Regions from separate parts of the Homo sapiens genome. Here region 1 is linked to region 2. Evidence: promoter capture Hi-C in human tissues and cell types (Jung and others, 2019). All regions are on one chromosome and are shown on one strand. The core of a region is centred on a gene start or on the middle of the fragment in contact, and the rest is flanking DNA. Distances in the headings are between cores, read along the strand shown.

What was found. Contacts are between HindIII fragments. The study calls those that stand out against the background at their distance.
Region 1: a fragment that was not itself captured here is called in contact with the fragment with the promoter of CCPG1 in region 2 in 1 of the 25 tissues and cell types used here (mesendoderm cells).

Annotation. Positions count from the first base shown.
Region 1 is chr15:55,794,002-55,797,414 of GRCh38, forward strand. No RefSeq gene overlaps it. Among named protein-coding and RNA genes, the nearest start is that of PRTG, 53 kb to the left of the region's middle. The HindIII fragment of the contact is 6,112 bases long and covers 1-3,413 here.
Region 2 is chr15:55,407,109-55,410,273 of GRCh38, forward strand. It overlaps CCPG1 (cell cycle progression 1), which reads right to left and starts at 1,251. Exons shown (of 9, transcript NM_001204450.2): 1 at 1,113-1,251. PIERCE2 (piercer of microtubule wall 2) reads left to right here and starts at 1,387. Exons shown (of 2, transcript NM_001198784.2): 1 at 1,387-1,678. The coding sequence starts at 1,661. The region is part of intron 8 of DNAAF4-CCPG1 (DNAAF4-CCPG1 readthrough (NMD candidate)); the gene reads right to left. RefSeq lists enhancers at 471-750, 1,111-1,380, 1,431-1,630. The HindIII fragment of the contact is 18,708 bases long and covers 1-3,165 here.

The sequences.
Region 1 (3,413 bases), core at 225-2,724, 390 kb after region 2:
GTGCCCTGTGTCCCAGCTGCTCCAGCCATGGCTGAAAGGGGCCAACTTAGAGCTCAGCCTGTAGCTTCAGAGTGTGCAAGCCCCAAGCCTTGGCAGCGTCCATGTGCCATTGAGTCTGCGAGTGCACAGAAGTCAAGAACTGGGGTTTGGGAACCTCTGCCTAGATTTCAGAAGATGTATGGAAATGCCTGGATGCCCAGGCAGAAGTTTGCTGCAGGGGTGGGGCCCTCGTGGAGAACCTCTACTAAGGCAATGTGGAAGGGAAATGTGGGGTCAGAGCCACCATGCAGAGTCTCTACTGGGCCACTGCCTAGTAGGGCTGTGAGAAGCAGGCCACCATCCGCCAGACTCCAGAATGGTAGATCCACTGACAGCTTGCACCGTGAACCTGGAAAAGCCACAGACACTCAGCGCCAGCCTGTGAAAGCAGGTGGGAAGGAGGCTGTACCCTGTAGAGCCATAAGGGTGGAGCTGCCCAAGACCATGGGAACCCACCTCTTGCATCAGGGTGATCTGCCAAAATCACAGGGATAGAGTCAGGACTCAAACCCAAGTCTTACTGACCTAGAACAAGACTTTTAATCACTCTATTGCATTGGAAACATCTGGGCTTTAAAGAGGGCTGTGCTCAGTGCCTGCAGTCTGTAGACTGGACTTAATGCAACGACATACCTACCTAGTTCTCTGGCAAATTAAACCAAAGAATCAACAGTATTCAGCATACTTTTTAGCCCCTTTTTTGAAACCACCCCTCATCCCTGCAACCTGAGGGATTTTCCTCTTAGCTCCTTTTAGTCCTATAATGCACTGCTGGCACATAGATATAATACTACCCAATGAATATTAATTTGAATAGGTGTTTGTTCCTTACATGTTGCTCATGATATTTCTTGCATTTTTTCTCGCATTTTTGAATTGCTGCTTCCTTTTTGCATGCACCCCTGGTTGTCCCAATTGGACTATAAGTAAGGACTGTGCTCCCAGGGTTAGTCTCTGTTTTATCCTTCCTACTCTATCCAGGCCAGGGCTAGTCCATTGCAGGGCTTTACCAATTTTAACACAAATGAGAGAGGCTGTTCTAAAACTCTCTGTGGGCAGGAACTCCATGACTACTCAAGGTATTTTCTTCTTTCCACTATTAGTTCTTTCAGTTGGTCCATTTGTAAGGCCTTTTGCATGTGCCAGAGGCTGAGCTAGAAGGGGAGGATGAGGAAAAGCCTGCTTCCTGCCCTCAAAGGGCATACACAGGGTGGGTTAGGTGTGACACAGACAGGGCTATAAATAACCATTACTTGAAGTGGGAAGAAATAGTTTCATTGGAGAAGTATAGACAAAGCTTAGTAAAGCATGTCAGAGGAGGGAGAGATTGTTTCCAGCTGTCTAGATCAGGGAAGGTACCTCCCAGGATGTTCACTGTCTTATGCCACTCACCCCCATCAAAGAGAAGTGACCCCGAAAGACTTCAAAGGATACTACTAACTAAGTAGATAACTAAGCAACTGGAGAATCTAACCTTGTCTATATCCCTTGGAGTACATTTGAGTTTACCAAATACTGCACAGTGGAATCCTGTTTTAAAGAATTGCATTGACTATATAGAATTCTGAGAGAAGAGAATGGAGAAACAGCCTCCAGCTTTGGTGATCAAGTTAGAGGTTGTGTGGGAATGCAACTTTGAAAGAGTGGTAAGAGCAGAAGCCAGACTGCAAGGACAAAAATTGGGAAAGTATGATGAGGAAATGGAGACAGTCATTTATTCAACAAATAATTGAATGTCAACTATGATTATGCCAAGCACTAGGCTAGGCACTGGAGATACTGAAATATACAAAACAGACATGGTCCCTACTCTTTGGAATTGGCAACCTGTGAATCCTCTTTTGAGAGGATTGGAAGTTCCATGAGCAGAACTGGGAGGGTGGCTCCACAAATAGGTTGAGGGGAGTTTTTTGTTTGTTTGTTTGTTTGTTTTTAAGTAAGACCAGCAGGAGTTAGAGATCAGCCTGGGCTACGTGGTGAAACCCTGTCTCTACTAAAAATACAAAATTAGCCAGGTGTGGTGGCGCATGCCTATAATCCCAGCTACTTGAGAGGCTGAGGTAGAACTACTTGAACCCAGGAGGCAGAGGTTGCAGTGAGCTAAGATCGTGCCATTGCACTCAAGCCCGGGCAACAAGAGTGAAACTCTGTCTCAAAAAAATGAAAAAATAAAAATAAAGTAAGAGAGACCAGGACATGGTTTCAGGCTGAAGGGAGGAAGTTAGAGATAGTTTGAAAATGCCAGGGGGGATGGATAACTAAGAATGTAAAATCCTAGAGGACATATGTGTATAATGTTTAAATCATGCCAGCATTGTGCTCCACACATCTTGTAAATGATCTTATTCCATCCTTACAATAATCCTATGCAGCAGTTATTGCTAGGTAAGGACACTGAGATGCAAGGTCACATAGCAAGTAGGTGGAAACTGAGATGTGAAGCCAGGTCCCACTGCCAAAGACATGCTCTCGAGAACTCCACTGCTTGGAGAGAATGTGGCCAAGAAAACATTCACCGGGTGTAAAATTCACTCCAGCTGGTCTACATCGCAATGTTTTGCAGTCTTCTCAGCCAATGTTTACCTGAACTTTTCACAAAGTTTTGAGCTGTGCAGCATGAGAGAGGGAGAATTACCTTCCCCTACTTCAGGCTGCTCTGAGTTTCATCTGCAATAATCTTCTGGCATAGATCCAACCCTAGGAACAACACTGCCTGCTCCTTTTTCACCTCAGGCCCCACATTGTGAATCATCCTTGGGTGCCATTGTTGCTTCCTTTGGCACATCCCCAGCACCTGTTTTCCCAATTCATTTCTCTAGGTGCAGGCAGTCACTCTCTCTCTACCCACCCCATTCAGCACCCCCACCCCCAAACTTAACACAGTGTCTCGCACACAGCAAATGTTGTAGAAATGATTAACAACATTTTACATTTCTGCAGCACTCAACTTCAACTCACATGGAATTTAAAAACAAAAACAAAAAAAACCAGGGTTTGGATCAGACAGAGCTAGATTTCAGTTATCTTTCCATTACCTAGAAGCAGTGTGACTCAGGACAAGGTACTCTGAACCTGTATCCTCATCTAAGAAATGAGATAACATGGCTGGGCACAGTGGCTCACCCCTGTAATCCCAGCACTTTGGGAGACCGAGGCAGGCGGATCACAAGGTCAGGAGATCGAGACCATCCTGGCTAACACATTGAAACCCTGTCTCTACTAAAAATACAAAAAATTAGCTGGGTGTGGTGACGGGTGCCTGTAGTCCTAGCTACTCGGGAGGCTGAGGCAGGAGAATGGCATGAACCCGGGAGGTGGAGCTTGCAGTGAGCTGAGATCCCGCCACTGCACTCCAGCCTGGGCGACAGAGGGTG
Region 2 (3,165 bases), core at 1-2,500:
TCCCAGATACTCGGGAGGCTGAGGCAGGAGAATCGTTTGAAACTGGAAGGCAGAGGTTGCAGTGAGCCGAGATCGCGCCACTGCACTCCAGCCTGGGCAACAAGAGCGAAACCCTCTCTCAAAAAAAAAAAAAATATGAATTAAAATAATACCCTCACCATCTCCATCTTCTGCTATATGACCTGAACTCAGAAAATAAAAGTAAACCATTCACACTGGATGTGTGTGATAAATATCCCCTGAGACGTGTGGGACCCAATATGATTCTAATCTTAAAAGATACGATGCAGTAATAGCGATATTTCAAGCACTATCCTGTAGATTGGAGGAGACAAATCTAAAATTCATAGTACTATATAGTTAGCTATTCTAACTACAAGAATGCCCAACTGTGTTTTTCAATAAAAGTAGAGCAGAACAGTGCAAACTTCACCACTCAATAAAATACCTTACTTGGCGCTCCCAATAGTGCTAAACATAAACAACGCGTACAAGGCACTGCATGGGACAGCTGCTAATGAGGACAAATCGATTAGGGAGACCAAAGCTAAAGGAGGCCACTGGAACTGGAGAAGGATATGGAGAGGTATTTGATCATCATCAGGCTGGCGTGCTAGCGGAAGTCTCCGGGCATTATTTAATATTTAATCTTTCTATTCCTGACATCACGGGGGCTCAAATGTCATCAAAAGACAGGCTGGCATTAAACCCGGCAGGGTGACGCACATAACATCTTACCATATGGATTTTCATCAGTCCAGACCGACAAGCACCTCAAAGCCTGCCCAGTGAAGGAAGAAGGGTGGCCCAGGCCGTCAGCTCTCCCACCCTTGGCGCGCAGTTCGGTATAGCACTCGGGGTTTGGAGGCTGCAAGACCACCGGACCGGACGCCCCAGGGTCGGCTCGGGCCTCCGGAGCTGTGCACTCGCGCACGGCCCGAGGAGGTCGCCCGTGCGGCCGCTGACACCAGGCGTCAAGTCCCCGCCCGAGCAGCCCCAGCCTAGGAGGCGGACCCCGCCACTGCTCCTCTACTGAGCCGAGCGTGTCGGCCAGGGACTCAGACAGTCGGCACAAACCCCCTCCCGGGGTCTAAGCCCGCCTAGTACAGTACCTGAAGGGGCAGCGCCACCTCCGCCCGATTGTGCTGGCTGCCCCAGTGGCGGCGGTCACAGCTCGGGCGCCAATGACGCCTCTTATAAAAACAACCTGCTCGCAGGCGTCTGCAGCCGGCAGGCGGTGACCGGCTGGGCGCCGCAGTGCATGCCGTGACGCGTAGTCCCGCCTGCGCCTCCTGCCCGGCAGCGGTGAAGAGAAGAACTACCACTCCCGAAGTGGAGCGCAGGCCGCCGCCGGGCGGCTGCGGGAAGCTGGGCCAGGCGGCCGCAGATCCCCACAACATCCGGGAGCCGGCGACCACTTCCAGTTGCTATGGTTACGAGTTGCAACCTCCAGAAAGAATTCGTGGTTTCACCCGGGAAAACAGCTCCCCGGATTAAACGGATAGGTTTACACATACTGATCCACCCAGCTATTCATCTTCTGTTTGCTGCTTTAATTGGGTGCGGTTAAAAGGCCACGTCCCTAGGCGTTCACCGGCTTTCTTGCCATCTGCTGCATGAAAACTGACTTTGCCGAAAAAATTAACAAAGAAGAGCGAAAATGACAGACCGCAACCGGGTGAGTTTAGGCAGAGGGCTAGATGTTTGGGAATGTTGGTATTCGCTAGTATAATTTGAGGCACCACCTACTCCTACCACCCCCAACCCCACAACCCCGAAAAGCACTTTACAAGGCAACTACTGAGCTTTTACATTTACACTTGTAAATGCACGTTTCCTTAAGTCCGAATAGCCTCTGAAGGTGTAAAGACCATCGAGATTGTATGCATTCATACCCTACTGTTGCAAACTGTTCAGTGATGGTTTTGAACAAGAAAAACGTACTTTGTTAATTGTATACTTATTTAAATTGCACTGTGTCAAAGAAGGGAGTTGTTTTGAAAAAGGATTTGGTGGCCGGGCGCCGGGGCTCAACGCCTGTAATCCCAGCAATTTGGGAGGCCGAAGCGGGTGGATCACCTGAGGTCAGGAGTTCGAGACCAGCCTGACCTACATGGTGAAACTCCGTCTCTACTAAATACAAAAAATTAGCCAGGAGAGGTGGCGCGGGCCTGTAATCCCAGCTACTTGGGAGGCTGAGACAGCAGAATTGCTTGAACCTGGGAGGCAGAGGTTGCAGTGAGCCGAGATTGCGCCACTGAACTGCAGCCTGGGCAACAAGAGCAAAACTCCGTCTCAAAAAAAAAAAATCTTACATTTATATTCACTCTTTACAGAAGCAATAAAAAGTTTAGGTTTCATTCTCTGTCCCCTAATTGTGGTAAAAGTAAATAAATAAATGGAAAAATTAATAATAAACGTAAACATTAGCAAGGAAGACGGTGGACCTGAGCAGAGACAAAAGAGTGCCTCAAAATTAGACCTTTTTTATTTTTTATTTTTGCTTTTCTATTAACTATATTCAACATCAACAGTGACATCAAAAAATCTTAATTTTATAATTACAGCTTCTGCGATGGGCATTATTAATCAATGGCTTGTTTTCATTTATCTTTTTAAATGTATATGTATCTATACCAAAGGACTTCGAAAGGTCAAAGTGGTCTGGCTTTCTCTAACTGAAAATTAAATTACTAAGAAAGCTAATACCAGCTACTGGTAGATTTTTATACCTTTCAAGCCACTTTCACAGGCCAATTTTAAGATGTAATTTCTTCTGAAAAATCATTTACAATTTTAATTAACCTTTTTATCATTTAATAAAAGTTGATGACATGTGGCAGATAATTTGAACTCATCCTTTTATTATTCTTTGTATTGGCTATTTGTTTCGTTCTTAACTATAGTCAGTTTGAACTCCACATTTTAAGAATATCAGGTTTGAAGAAGGTGAAACCCATATTAGAAAACTGCAGTGGTTGTCTATGATGTAAAGTATAAAGCAATGGACCTTTTGTTTCTGAATCTATAAACATTTGTGAATTATCCTGGAAATCTAAAAAATTTTTAATTTAAGATTTAGCTTTTCCAGATTTTATGGTACTAATTATGCCAACAAAGTTTATCAGCTAATTTGTCTTCTGTTTTTACTAGATTTCGTTTTCT